5 separate regions of the Homo sapiens genome follow, and all the other regions are linked to region 2. Evidence: promoter capture Hi-C in human tissues and cell types (Jung and others, 2019). All regions are on one chromosome and are shown on one strand. The core of a region is centred on a gene start or on the middle of the fragment in contact, and the rest is flanking DNA. Distances in the headings are between cores, read along the strand shown.

Region 1 (2,769 bases), core at 147-2,646, 320 kb after region 2:
GCACTGACTGAATCTGATGAGCATTTTTCGACAAAGCTTATGTATGAAGGTAGGTGGTCTCGAACCCATGGGCTCAAGCAGTCCTCCCGCCTTGGCCTCCCAGAGTGTTGGGATTACAGGTGTGAGGCACTGCACTCAGCCTATCTTGCATTTTGAATGGCTCTTTTACCCAGGCATCATAGCGTTACACCCTGTGCCATTAGTCATGTGGGAAACATGGTTTCCTGAGTTGTGCAGATCTTCCAAATGTGGGCACCTTTCGTTTGACAATATTTTTTTAAAATCTGCATTTGTGATCTCTCAGGGAGGGCTTGGAGCATCAGAACTCTTTCAAGCTCACAGTGGCAAGTGTAAGTTTTCCAAAATTCTGATTTTTGCTTAAAGTCTCAGATGGCATCATTGGCAGCAAATAGTCGTGTTGTTTTCTTTGAAGTGACAGGCTTACATCATTCATTTTTAATCAGACGTCTACCAAATACCCAACACTGAATAACTAGCTTCCCCAGCGCTCTTGCAAGTGAAAAGGGCGTTCTGTGAAAACAGCGGCTATTTCAGCTCGCAGCACCGAGCGCTCCCCGTGTGCTTTCCCTGAGCCAGCTGTCATTCTGCAGCAGAGACCCAGAGAATGTCAAGAACACAAGCACTCAAGAATGGAAATAACTCAAACGTCCTTCAGCTCGAGAGCGGTTAAACTGGCACATCTGATTCCTCCTCAGCAGTGAAACAGAAGGGACTGTTGACACACGCAGTGCTGTGGTTGGATCTCAAGGGCATTATACTAAGAGAAAAACGCCAGTCCTATAAGGAGGTGTACTGTGTGATTCCATTTCTAAATGACATCCTCAAAATGCCAGCCTCAGAAGGAGAGCGGGTCAGTGTTCCACGGAGCAGTGGGAGGCAGCAGGAGGCCGTCCTCTGTGGTAATGGAGAGTTCTGGGCCAGGGCCGCTGTGGTTGTTACACGAATCTACACATGTGACAAATGCCATAGAATTAGACCCAAAGAATGCCTGCGAAAGCTGCTGAAATCCAGTGGGGTCTGCAGCCTGGTTCACTCTGTAGTGAAATCCAGTGGGGTCTGCAGCCTGGTTCTATCTGTATTGAAATCCAGTGGGGTCTGCAGCCTGGTCCACTCTGTAGTGAAATCCAGTGTGGTCTGCAGCCTGGTTCTATCTGTATTGAAATCCAGTGGGGTCTGCAGCCTGGTCCACTCTGTAGTGAAATCCAGTGGGGTCTGCAGCCTGGTTCTAGCTGTATTGAAATCCAGTGGGGTCTGCAGCCTGGTCCACTCTGTAGTGAAATCCAGTGGGGTCTGCAGCCTGGTTCTATCTGTATTGAAATCCAGTGGGGTCTGCAGCCTGGTTCACTCTGTAGTGAAATCCAGTGGGGTCTGCAGCCTGGGTCACTGTATGGTACCAGTGTCAGCTTCCTGTGTTACACGAGATGGCACAGTTGGGTGAAGCTGGTGATGAAGGTATGTGACCCCTCTACTACTTTTACAACTTCTTGTGAGTCTATAAACATTTCACAATTAAAAAAAAGTCTACTCAGGAGCTGAATTTAATAAAATGAGCACTTTTGACTGCTTTGTGAAGCGTGGCATTTTTTTTTTTGTTTTTTTGCTGTGAGTTCATGGTAGTAAAGAACATGAGTGACATGACTGCGCAGTCTGGCCCGAGTTCATGCCATTGTGGTTGCCCCAGCAGCGCGAGGTCAGCAGCGTAGAAAGGCAGCAGTGTGAAAGCTATGAGCTTGCGGGTGCCCTGAGAGCCACACTCTGAGAACTGTCACTCCTTTGCCTTCCTCCTGACACTCCTAGGGCCTCTGCATGTCCTGTAGTAGCTCCTGTCCTCAAAGGTCCCCCATCCCCAACTACAGGATGTCCACCTCCCTGAGCCCTTCTCTGCTGCTCGTGGCCTTCTGGTCACTCACTCCCCCTGGGCGGTTGCTCGGTATCCTCATGATGGGAAGCTGTGACCTCTTTACCAGGTCTACTGCTACTGGATGGCAAGGATCCTGTCTTGCTTACTTTCATATCTCCAGGGCTAGTCCCAGTGAATGATCACTTAAGTGTTTGAATTGCATTGAATTACATGATGGTTGTGTTTTAATAATTAATGTTAATAATAACACCTGCCATATATTAAGACACTACCATGTCCCAGGAGTGGTACTAAGTGCTTTACATACAAGGGGTCTTCAAAAAAATCATGGAAGATACGTTATGAAAAAACTATGCATGGATTTCAACACTTTTTGCACCAAAATAAGCTCCTACTCACTGAGCAGGATCTAGTTTGAGGCACTAAGAAGGATAAGACATCAGTTTTAAAAGAGCCCCTATCAGAGCAACATGAATTCTGCTAAAATTAAATCAAGAACCAACATTGGCCGGGTGCAGTGGCTCACGCCTGTAATCCCAGCACTTTGGGGGGCTGAGGCAGGCGGATCACCTGAGGTCAGGAGTTCAAGATCAGCCTGGCTAATATGGCGAAACCCCATCTCTACTAAGAATACAAAAATTAGCTGGGCGTGGTGGCAGGCGCCTATAAGCCCAGCTACTTGGGAGGCTGAGGCAGGAGAATTGCCTGAACCCAGGAGGCGGAGGTTGCAGTGAGCCAAAATTGCGCCACTGCACTCCAGCCTGGGCAACGAGCAAAACTCCGCCTCAACAACAACAACAACAACAAAACAACCAACATCAAATTTATGGTGAAGCTTGGGTGGAAGAATGGTGAAATCATTGATGCTTTATGAAAAGTTTATGAAA
Region 2 (2,700 bases), core at 201-2,700:
ACTGGCTCTTCACACAATTGTCTCTTACAACTGAAGGGACATTTAAACTGTCAGCCTAATAATAAAGTAGAAAAAAACAGTTCCAGCTGGGTACGGTGGCTCAAGGATGTAATCCCAGAACTTTGGGAGGCTGAGGTGGGCGGATCACTTGAGGTCAGGAGTTTGAGACCAGCCTAGCCAAATGGCAAAACCCCGTTTCTACTAAAAATACAAAAATTAGCTGGGCGTGGTGGCGAGCACCTGCAATCCCAGCTACTCGGGAGGCTAAGGCAGGAGAATCCCTTGAACCTGGGAAGCGGAGGTTGCAGTGGGCCGAGATTGTGCCACTGCACTCCACCCTGGGCAAGAGTGAGACTGAGTCTCAAAAACAAAAAAAAAAAACACAGGCCTCAGCATCGCCTGGACCTGTTCTTGCTTGGGGCATCCCGTCGGTCACCAACCATGACAGCGAGGCGGGCCTGGCCTGTGCTCCACCGGAGGGGGCTTCTTGCACAGATGACCTGCTCATTTCAGCCCCTCCAGAATCTTCTGGCAGGCGCAGAGCAACAGGACGTCCATTTTACAGACGAGGAAACCGAGACACAGGGAAGGTTGCCATCTGCAACCCAGCCCGGTTTTTATCTTGTTTTTCTGTGTTTTAACTTTTTATTTAGACTTACAGTTTGAAACAGTGCTAGAATCGGAAGCATGTAAAGAAACCTGTGGACCTTTTATGCAGATACACTTAAGTTTTTAACCCATGTGCCTTATCACTGGGGACCTCTTGCACTCTCTCTCATGATTTTTTTCCCGAACTAGATGAGGATATTGACAAAGATTCTTGCTTGGCCAAACTGTAGTCGGGCTCCTGAAGCGCCTAGGCCACCTGCGCACTTCCTTGTAAAATCCACTTTTAGCAAGAAGCCTGGCTAAGTCAGTTTAGCCAGACCCTTCCCACCCGCTTGCTATCGGATCACCGTGGAGATCGGAGCCGGCTGCTCACCTGCGCCATCGCCGGCGACGCCCGATCACCCTGCCTGCCTGAAACCAGAAGCGCCTCATCCCTGGGGTTTCCTCTCAGAGACTGTCCATGCAGGGACCGCACCCTGCTCCGGGCTATCAATTCCCACTCGCCCTTGCTGTATTCAGCGGAGCCCAATGTCTCCCCAGCGGCGCCCCAGGCGCGGCCCCCCGCTGCTCACTCGCGCGCAGCGCCCGAGCGGAGGGAGGCCTCTCACGGCCACAGCCCGGGCCAGCCCAGGGGTGCGCAGCGGGGCCAAAGCGGCTTCTTTCGCTCCAGGAGCCGCGGCCGCGCCCTGAGGCTAAGGCAGGACTCCGGGCCGGCCCCGTCCCCGCGGCCCACCCACCTGGTCGGCGATGTGCTGGGTCTCGGCGGTGGCCGGCTGCGTGGCGGAGGGCGCCCCGCACATCATCTTGGCGGCGACGGAGGGAATCTGGCGAGGGGACTCGGCGAGGGGACGCGGCGGCTCCTCAGCCCAAGTAGGCGCTGGGGTCACGTGACGCGCGGGCGGAACCAAGGGGCGGGGAGGAGGCACTTTGGCTTCGGAGTCCCCTGCGGGGTCGCGGTGGCCCCGCAAGAAGGGACGCGCGGGGCGGGGCGCGGGGCGGGGCGCGGGGCGGGGAACCTGGCCACCACTCGCCGCAGGCTGGGTCTCCGCGCCCAGCGCTGGTGTCGGGAGGGAGCGCCCCCCTCCCGGGGCTGGTATCGTCTTTCCGGGCGCCGAGTCACACGGACCGGGGCGGGGGCGCGGCCGGGTGTCGCCGGTGGGTTGGGCGCGCAGGGTGGGACGATAGGGAAGGGGCAGTCGGAGTAGGCGCAATCCTGCAGGGTGGCGGGGTCCGGGCCGCGCACGAGGGAGGGCGGGGCGCAGCGCTGCAGGGGTCAGGGGTCAGGGGTCCCGGCCCCGCGGGAGCAGGTGTGCGGGCTGCAGTGGACATCACCGCTTGTGACCGAGAACACTGAAGGCTGAAGGGGGTGGACAGAGGGGCCCAGGGAGGGGGAGACGGCGCCCACGCGCTCCAGGCTGGGTGGGGGCAGGGGGTAGATCAGAGGGATGAGAAGAAGGCAGGGTTCTCTGGTGGAATTTGCGTTTTAGGATTTCTTTTCTTTCTTTCCTTTTCTTTTCTTTTTTTTTTTTTTTTTTTTTTTTTGAGACGGAGTCTCGCTCTGTCTCCCAGGCTGGAGTGCAGTGGCGCGATCTCGGCTTACTGCAGGCTCCGCCTCCCGGGTTCACGCCATTCTCCTGCCTCAGCCTCCCGAGTAGCTGGGACTACAGGCGCCCGCCACCACACCTGGCTAATTTTTGTATTTTTAGTAGAGACGGGGTTTCACTGTGTTAGCCAGGATGGTCTCGATCTCCTGACCTTGTGATCCACCCGCCTTGGCCTCCCAAAGTGCTGGGATTACAGGTGTGAGCCACTGCGCCCGGCCTTTTTTTTTTTTTTTTTGAGACGGAGTCTGGATCTGTCGCCTAGGCTGGAGTGCAGTGGCGCAATCTCGGCTCACTGCAAGCTCCGCCTCCGGGGTTCACACCATTCTCCTGCCTCGGCCTCCCGAGTAGCTGGGACTACAGGCGCGCGCCTTCATGCGCAGCTAATTTTTGTGTTTTTAGTAGAGACGGGGTTTCACCATATTGGCCAGGCTGGTCTCGAACTCCTGACCTCGTGATCCACCTGCCTCGGGCTCCCAAAGTGCTGGAA
Region 3 (2,968 bases), core at 96-2,595, 300 kb after region 2:
TATCTTAACAGTTAAAGTCCTTGGGCTATCTATGTGGACTTGTGTCAGAGAAAGGACCTAACTCAGAAGATCTCAACAGGACAGTTGACCTTTTGGCAGGTTTGGGAGCTGAGCGACCAGAAACAGGTACTTTTTTGTATATACCTGTGTGAGTGGTGAGGTGGACAGTAATGAAAATGTCCTTTGCAAGTTGGCACATTTAACCGAAGTTCTAAGAGTAATCATATTACTCACCATTTGGAAAATTATACCCATTGTTAGCTGACTGGATTAAAGCACATGATAGTTTACCTTTTAACAGCATAATGCAATATTAGAAATAGTTGAAGAAATTGGAAGGAGTTTCAGAAATGTAGCTGAGTTTCTCCTGGGCTTAAGGGACTTTATAGCTCATGTTCAAATGCACCACTGTCTCTCTGAATTACAGATGATCTGTTTTTCTAACAATACGACCTGACGATTTTTTTTTTTTTTAAGAGACAGGGTCTCACTCTGTTGCCCAGACTGGAGTGTAGTGGCACAATCTTGGCTCACTGCAGCCTCGACCTCCTGGGCTCAAGGGATCCTCTTGCCTCACCCTCCCAGGTAGCTGGGACTACAGGTGTGTGCTACCATACTTGGCTAATTTTTTAATTTTTTGTAGAGATGGAGTCTCGCTGTATTGCCCAGGCTGGTCTCAAACTCCTGGCCTAAAGTGATCCTCCTGCCCTGGCCTCCCAGCAAATTTTTTAAAATAAATTGGCTGGGCACGGTGGCTCCCACCTGTAATCCCAGCACTTTGGGAGGCCGAGGTGGGCGGATCACCTGAGGTCAGGAATTCGAGACCAGCCTGACCAACATGGAGAAACCCCATCTCTACTAAAAATACAAAATTAGCCGGGTGTGGTGGTGCATGCCTGTAATCCCAGCTATTCGGGAGGCTGAGGCAGGAGAATCGCTTGAACCTGGGAGGTGGAGGTTGTGGTGAACAAAGATTGCTCCATTGCACTCCAGCCTGGGCAACAAGAGCAAAACTCTGTCAAAAAAAAAAAAAAATTCTCCTGGATAATAAGGCTCTTTGAAAGGAGGATTACTCATTGTTTTACGTAGGAATATATGATGAGTATTATTTAGCAAGACTGTTGCTAAAGAATATCTGATGAGCTGAAAACATTCTTAGTAAATTGAATAAATGTTTAAGGGAAAAAATACGTAGTATTTATATTTCATTGTTTCAACTTGAGACCATTTCAGATCACTTCGGAAGTAATTTAATTCATCGGAGTATTTGTAATATATGTTTCTAAAAAAGTTTAGTTCTAAAGATCAGAGAAAAAGCATGACACAAAGCGTTTTGACTATTTTATGAATATGTGAATTGAAAGAGAATGTACATAATCATGTAGTTTCCGTTGGCATTGGCCGGTTTGTAATTTCACAAGAGTCAGATGAGGTCATCTACCTGCAGTATGTGAAGGTGAATGTAAAGTCATGTGACTGGACATGATGAAGATGAAGAGGGACTCTCGTTTCTTTCTGTTTAAGCCAACACAGCTCAGAGTCCTTATAAGAAACTGAAAGAAGCATTATCGTCAGTGGAAGCTTTTGAAAAACACTACTTAGTAAGTATTAACAAGTGTTCAATGTCTGTTCTGTGAATACCTGTCTCTAGAAGGCTTTGCTACATGGCCTGTTGAGTTGGGAAGGAACTGGTGTGGGGGGCCCCTTCTTGTTGGTTTTTTTTAGTTTCTTTGGTACCTGGGGAGTTGTGGACAAAACATGGAGTAGTTCATCAAATGTGTATTAGTGCCCATGGTACCATGCTAGGCATGGAATCATCTTTGAATATTTACCGTTTTGTTCAAATTGGGTTTGCTCACACAGAAATTATAAGAGAGGCTAGTGAATACTTTTCTTTGTAAAAAGGAGTAATTTGGACTTGGGCAGAGCTATTGTATTTGATTTTGAAAGACTTAAATTAGCAAAACTTTAAAAAACGGCGTAGGCAGAAGTGTGGTGGGTCAGCGTCATTCCCGGGTCATGGGCAACTTGAGCGTTTGGTCTGCCCGTAATGGCTGTACCTCTTATACACACAAGTATGAAAAATACCCAGCATGTCACCCACGTGCAGAAAGTCCTTGGAAAAGTTAGATGTTTTGGATGAGTTTGTGGGTTTCTTTTATTATTATGCTTCATAATTTATACACAGGTTACCAATTTTGCTTATATATTACAGAAAAATTCACAAAAATAGATGCAAAGGAAAAAATAATGTTACATTATTAGCAATGTCTTCTGCGGGCTGGGCATGGTGGCTCACGCCTGTAATTCAGCACTTTGGGAGGCTGAGGCAGGTGGATCACTTGAGGTCAGGAGTTTGAGACCAGCCTAGCCAACATGGTGAAATCCTGTCTCTGCTAAAGATACAAAAAATTAGCCGGGCCTGGTGGCGCCTGTAGTCCCAGCTACTTGGGAAGCTGAGGCACAAGAATCACTTCAACCTATGAGGCGGAGGTTGCAGTGAGCTGAGATCTCACCGCTGTGCTCCAGCCTGGGCGATGGAGCAAGACTCTGTCTCAAAACAAAAACCCAACAATGTCTTTTGTGTGAGCTTTAGGTGAATAAATGTAGTATTTGTCCATCATTAAAAGTTCAAGTACATAATTGTGTTTTTACTTCCCCACAGGATTTGTCCCATGCCACCATTGAAATGTATACAAGCATTGGGAGGATTCGATCTGCTAAGTTTGTTGGAAAAGATCTGGCAGAGTTTTACATGTAATTGATTTTGTACTTTTCTTTGAATTCTAAACATACAAATAACACGAGAAGATTTGTTATATATGGAGTTAGTATAAAGTGCACATAAATTTGTAGACTGAAAAGTGTAGATTCTCTTACCCAGTCCTCATAATTTTTTTTTCAGTTTCTTCTGAAAACCAGATGGAGAGATTTTCTGCTTGTTACTCTTAATAACTGTTATTGGTCT
Region 4 (3,044 bases), core at 293-2,792, 280 kb after region 2:
GGGTTCAGGTTTCCATGTGTAAGCCTGAGCTGTCTGTTAGGCATCCACACAAGCGTGCTGTGCCTGCCATTGGAGCCAGAGTCAGGTCTGAGCTGGAGTCCTGAATGTGTGGTGGTCATGCTGTGTAGATGGGCTCCGTCATGGAGAGGGAATAGTGAGTGTAGACAGGGAAGTCCAAGGGCGGAGCCCTGCGGCCTCCAGCAGAGAGCCTCGGGGAGCGAGAGGAACCAGCCGTCTGACCAGAGGGAGCCACAGTGAGGGGCGAGGGGAGCAGGTGGCCAGGTCCTGGACAGCAGGAAACATCCCAAGGACAGGGGGGTGACCAGTTATATCTGGTGCTGCCGATAGGTCGGGGAGGGTTCAGAAATTACCTTAGCTTTTCCTAGCTTCTTGTGCATGCGTGAATGTTGACATATGCGGTCGTCACATTGGTTGTTACTTAGCGGAGCGTAGACATTATTCATAGTGCTGCGTGCCTTTCTCTGTCGTTTAATGGCTACATACTGTTTCTTCTATACATTGATTTATGTTTTTGTTTTTTTAAAAAACGTATCTTGGGCGAATAGGAGGAGCTTGCCTTTGTTTTCGAGATGCTGCAGCAGTTCGAGGACGCCCTGGTGCAGTACGACGAACTGGACGCCCTCTTCTCTCAGTATGTGGTCAACTTCGGGGCCGGGGGTGAGTAGTGGCACTTCAGTAACGCATGCTTTTCTTAGTGTGGCTTTCTCCAACTTCAGATAGGCTTGAAGCAGCCATTTATTTACCTCAGGAGTACGCATGTTTTGTTGTTGTCTTTATACACATTATATCGGATATATTCTCGTGATTCCTAGAGGAAATGAAATGAGAATTAAGAATTAGTCATTTTCACTTTTAGAAGAATCTTAAGTAACAAAAATAATAATAATTTAAAAAAACTGTTTTCCAGGTATAAAATGTCCTTTCCACAACTCAGTGGCCTGCTGGTGATGCTTCGATTCTGTCCCTCGTTAGAATCAGAGTGGACGTCCCTTTGCCTTCCATCCAGGGGTTATCTTTGGAATGCTCGAGTGCTCATTGCTGTGAACTTATAAAATGCCCTTGGGTGTTCATCTTTCTTTTGCACTTTTAAATAATATCTTAAGCTCCTTTACAATTAAAGAATTAGCACAGTGAAACCATACACAGAGAGAAACATTGGTTATTGTCCTCAGTGTTTTTCGCTGATACTTATTTTGATGAAAGTGATACCACGTTATATAGCTGTTTCTCTGTCGCTCCTTTTTGTTACTCACAGCCCATCCTGGGCATCTCTCCAGGTTAGCAGGTGGGGTTTGGAGTTGTTTTTGTTACAATTGGTATTCCTGGCTTGATTCCATTACCTGGTGTTGGACATTGGGTTCTTTTATGCTTCTTGCCACCACAAGCAGTGCTGTAGTGGGCATCTCTGCCAGGTGTTCTTTTTGAGAACCCTTGTCACCATGTGTGAAGGAAGGAGTAATTTTGAGGAGCCCTGGTGTCAGCAGGAGAACCTGGAGGGAGATGAAGTGTGGGGACGGTCAGTTCTAGCTGTGAGCACTGTCCTCACTCTGGAACTCATCAGTGGCGCCGATGGATACTGGCTCATAGTGCTTCTGAAGATCAGGTCTGGATATCTCACTCTCCTGAGATGCCAGTATAGACACAGAACCAAAGCAAAGTGTTTACTAAGTAAAAAAATAAAATAAAAAAACACTTCTATTTCTTATATTTTATGTGTCTTTTTTTTTTTTTTTTTTGAAATGGAGTCTTGCACTGTTGCCCAGGCTGGAGTGCAGTGGCACAATCTCGGCTCACTGCAAGCTTTGCCTCCCGGGTTCATGCCATTCATGCCATTCTCCTGCCTCAGCAGTGGGACTGGGACTACAGGCGCCTGCCACCACGCCTGGCTAATGTTTTGTATTTTTAGTAGAGACGGGTTTTCACCATGTTAGCCAGGATGGTCTCGATCTCCTGACCTCGTGATCCGCCTCAGCCTCCCAAAGTGCTGGGATTGCAGGTGTGAGCCACCATGCCCGGCCTTATGTGTCCATATTATACAAACATATCTATTTATTTATTTTTGAGACAGTGTCTCACTCTGTCCCCCAGGCTGGAGGGCAGTGGTGTGATCTTGGCCCACTGCAACCTCTGCCTCCAGGGTTCAAGCGATTTTCGTGCCTAAGCCTCCTGAGTAGCTGGGATTACAGGTGCATGCCACCATACCTGGCTAATTTCTATATTTTTAGTAGAAACGGGGTTTCACCATGTTGGCCAGGCTGGTCTCGAACTCCTGGCCCCAAGTGATCCTCTTGCCTCGGCTTCCCAAAGTGCTGGGATTATAGTTGTGAGCCACCATGCCCAGCCTATACATACATACATACACACACACACACACACACACACACACACACTTTTTTTTTGAGACGGAGTCTTGCTTTGTTGCCAGGCTGGAGTGCAGTGGTGTGATCTTGGCTCACTGCAACCTTCTCCTCCTGATTTCAAGCGATTCTCTTGCCTCAGCCTCCCAAATAGCTGGGACTACAGGTGCGCACCACCACGCCCAGCTAATTTATTTATTTATTTTAATTTTAATTTAATTTAATTTTATTTTATTTTTTGAGACGGAGTCTTGCTCTGTAGCCCAGGCTGGAGTGCAGTGGCGCCATCTCGGCTCACTGCAACCTCCGCCTCCCGGGTTCACGCCATTCTCCTGCCTCAGCCTCCTGAGTAGCTGCGACTACAGGTGCCCGCCACCAAGCCCGGCTAATTTTTTTTTGTATTTTTAGTAGAGACGGGGTTTCACCGTGTTAGCCAGGATGGTCTCGATCTCCTCGTGATCTGCCCACCTCAGCCTCCCAAAGTGCTGGGATTACAGGCGTGAGCCACTGCGCCTGGCCAATTTTTTTATTTTTAGTAGAGTTGGGGTTTCACCTTGTTGGCCAGGCTGGTCTCGATCTCTTAACCTCGTGATTCGCCCGCCTCAGCCTCCCAAAGTGCTGGGATTACAGGCGTGAGCCACCGCACCTGGCCTGTATTTTTTAAAT
Region 5 (2,921 bases), core at 130-2,629, 410 kb before region 2:
TCAGGAGCATGGCTAATCTGACCCATTTCAATCAAGTCCATAAAAAAAAAAATGATTCTGGAAAGACACCTCTATGGCAAACCACGAAAAGACTTGGTGACAGAACCACTCAGCCATGACACCAGGCTCATCCCAAGGACAGTGGTGACCCGTTTCCATTTGTGCCACTTGATGTGGATGGAGGCAGCACAGCGAGACAAGGGCTAGACACACACGCATGTGAGGGACGGGATGAGTCATCGGCACACGTCCCTGTTACCGTCACTGTCAGCCCAGAGCTGGAGCCCTGTGAGGCAAGATGAGGGGCAGATGAGAGCTGAGAGCAGAAGGAAAGAACCGGACGCCCTGGCAGAAAACACAGACCTGGGCGGGAGGGCAGGGGGAGCGCAGGGGAGAGGCAGGGGCTGCAGGGTCGAGGCGTGGAGGAGGCTGTCAGGAAAGGCTGCTGTACTTTCTTGAATGCAGCCCCGCTGGCCAAGACACAGGAAAAGACAGGGTTTTATTTTAAAATGCTCTGTGTCAGCTGGAATGGGGGTCTTGGATGAAACCTGCGGGGACTGGACCTCACAGGGCAGCCAGCAGTCGGTGTCACAGCAGCTCCACAACTGTTGGGATACCAGGTTTTCTTGGTGGGCAAAGTTTACTTTTCGCTCCATCTCTCAGAGCACGAGCCCCTCTGACAGGGCAGACACCGATGATCTCAGCACAGCCTTGGCACTGCTTGGCACAGCTGCGTGGGGATCGTGCGTGAAACTGCGACTTGACTTTTTCCAAAGCCCCAGGATTCCCCTTGCGTGGGAGCCTGGTGCTGTGCCGGTGGTCACCAGCCTCACTGCCCGCCCACTCCCCACCCTGTGGCCTCTCAGTGTCCCCTCCAGCACACAGGACCCGGCTCAGTTGCTCAGAGAGAGATTTTTCCAGCAAGGCGTTTGCAGGCGGCCTGGCCGTGCTTCTGACCCACCGGCAGGTTTCTGAAGAGCCGCTGCAGGCTCTTTCTTGCAGGACATGAAGCCATAATTAGTTTTTCCTTCCTTGCCAAATTGGGAGCCTGCGGGTCTGGTAGCACTGAGGAAAATACAGCTCAGTGTATGGCTGAAGAGTGAGCCCAGGGCACACGTGTGTGCACGTGCGTGAGAAAGAGAGAGGAGACTGAGAGGCAGGGAGCCTCTTCTCTGTGGATCTCACCTGTCTGTCCACGCCGCACGCCCCCCGGCAGCACCACTTTCAACACCACTTTTCAGAGCTAAAAGAGTCATCTGTTTTGCTTCAGCAAAAGAAACGTCAGCCTAGAAGCTTTAAGCATATTCCCACAATGGGCTTTAATTATCAGAGAAGGTTGGCAATACGTTTGCATTTTAATTAAGATTAATGAATCATGCATGATTCATCAGGCCGTTCCCCTCCGTTGGCGGAGCAGTGATGAGAAGGCCACCATGTCGCTGAGGGGCCATCTGCAGGGACGGTGTGTCAGATCCGAGAACCCCACTCAGTGGTCCCTCCCCTGGGGCCCCAGCGGCAATCTGTCCTCATACACGCTGCAGCCACGCCTCAGCCATGTGACCTGGGGGTTTCTGCTTCTCCAGAAAGGGCGTACTGGGTGCAACTACACACACACTTACCCTGTAGGTGCCAATAAACGCAACGTTAAACAACAAGTCTATGGGTAAGTAAGTTTGAGAAATGCCAGTTTACATGAAGGTGAGCAGAGTTGTGTGTGTTTCCCTGCAGGACTCCTCAGGCCTTTAATACGCACATGTGCGCTGTGAACCCCCAGATTCATTTGCACACAGAAGCTATCCTTCCAGAAATCACCTTTGGGATTAGTACAGTATTCCCTGTAAACCAAAAATAGAATTCTAAGCCCCCCAACTGCCTGAATGGCTCCCCTACTCTTGGCCAAGGGGATCCCAAAGGAACCTGATAAACGAGTTCAGGCCAGGATGGGAAGAGGTAGGGTTGGACATGCCTCATAATACTCTCCTCCCTCTCTGGAGTTTAGGCACAGCTGACCAGCATTAACATGAAAACAGAGATCATAAGACTGGCAGAAAAGACTCTTTGTAGCAATAAGACACCAAATTCCACCCTGACTCTAGTATAGCATCACATGACTGATAGCAGGCCTGGAAAAAAATAAAAGTACTTTACCCCAAAATATATTTCTCTGACATATTTTGAAATGGCCCTGCAAAGCTGTCTCTTAAGGGGGAAATTTGCATTCTGTAGAGAATTCCCTGCCCTTAATAGGTCTTTTACAGAGAGTCTGACACATTTTAAGGTCCCATAAGAGACATTTGCCATCTAGTCTCTCTGAAGCCTGCTATCTGGAGGCTTCATCTACATAACAAAAACCTTGGCTTCCACGATCCCCTTGTCTTAACTCAAGCATCTCTTTCTGCTGACCTCAAACTTTTTAGGCAAAGCTCAGCTCTTTCAACCAATTGCCAATCAGGAAATCTTTGAATCCACCTATAACCTGGAAGCCTCTCACTTTCTGGGTCACACCAATGTATACCTTACATGTATTGATTGATATCTTTGCCTGCAACTTCTGTACCCTAAAATGTATGAAAGCAAAGCTGCACCCCAACCACCTTGGACACATGTTCTCAGGACCTCTTGAGACTGTGTCACAGGCCATGGCCCTTAACCATAGCAAAATAAGCCTCTACATTGATTGAGACCTGTCTCTGATATTTTTTGGGTTACACCTCCAAACCAGGAATTGGTGATCCAGGAAAACACTCCATTGTGGGGTGATTTGAGTGGGTGACAGAAGCCCAGGCCAGCCCTCCAGGAATGGATGCACACTGGCACCAGGGATGCTTGCATAGAGATGGGGTTGGGGGTGTCCTTCTGAACACTCCCACAACAACCGGGCGCCAGCTTGCATCTTTGCTTGACGTGGCCGTCGCCCGGCT

What was found. Contacts are between HindIII fragments. The study calls those that stand out against the background at their distance.
Region 1: a fragment that was not itself captured here is called in contact with the fragment with the promoter of CSTB in region 2 in 3 of the 25 tissues and cell types used here (IMR-90 fibroblasts, dorsolateral prefrontal cortex and hippocampus).
Region 3: a fragment that was not itself captured here is called in contact with the fragment with the promoter of CSTB in region 2 in 1 of the 25 tissues and cell types used here (dorsolateral prefrontal cortex).
Region 4: a contact is called between a fragment that was not itself captured here and the fragment with the promoter of CSTB in region 2, in 2 of the 25 tissues and cell types used here (IMR-90 fibroblasts and mesenchymal stem cells).
Region 5: a contact is called between a fragment that was not itself captured here and the fragment with the promoter of CSTB in region 2, in 1 of the 25 tissues and cell types used here (dorsolateral prefrontal cortex).

Annotation. Positions count from the first base shown.
Region 1 is chr21:44,098,486-44,101,254 of GRCh38, forward strand. TRAPPC10 (trafficking protein particle complex subunit 10) reads left to right here. Exons shown (of 23, transcript NM_003274.5): 21 at 1-49. Among named protein-coding and RNA genes, the nearest start is that of PWP2, 7.5 kb to the right of the region's middle. The HindIII fragment of the contact is 4,324 bases long and covers 1-2,769 here.
Region 2 is chr21:43,774,858-43,777,557 of GRCh38, forward strand. CSTB (cystatin B) reads right to left here and starts at 1,451. Exons shown (of 3, transcript NM_000100.4): 1 at 1,347-1,451. The coding sequence starts at 1,412. RefSeq lists a silencer at 1,030-2,029. The HindIII fragment of the contact is 5,981 bases long and covers 1-2,700 here.
Region 3 is chr21:44,075,028-44,077,995 of GRCh38, forward strand. TRAPPC10 (trafficking protein particle complex subunit 10) reads left to right here. Exons shown (of 23, transcript NM_003274.5): 9 at 12-126; 10 at 1,525-1,601; 11 at 2,666-2,757. Among named protein-coding and RNA genes, the nearest start is that of PWP2, 31 kb to the right of the region's middle. The HindIII fragment of the contact is 7,831 bases long and covers 1-2,968 here.
Region 4 is chr21:44,058,537-44,061,580 of GRCh38, forward strand. It overlaps TRAPPC10 (trafficking protein particle complex subunit 10), which reads left to right. Exons shown (of 23, transcript NM_003274.5): 6 at 567-678. Among named protein-coding and RNA genes, the nearest start is that of PWP2, 47 kb to the right of the region's middle. The HindIII fragment of the contact is 7,991 bases long and covers 1-3,044 here.
Region 5 is chr21:43,369,063-43,371,983 of GRCh38, forward strand. No RefSeq gene overlaps it. Among named protein-coding and RNA genes, the nearest start is that of LINC01679, 8.2 kb to the left of the region's middle. RefSeq lists enhancers at 1-346, 75-134, 347-904. The HindIII fragment of the contact is 5,950 bases long and covers 1-2,921 here.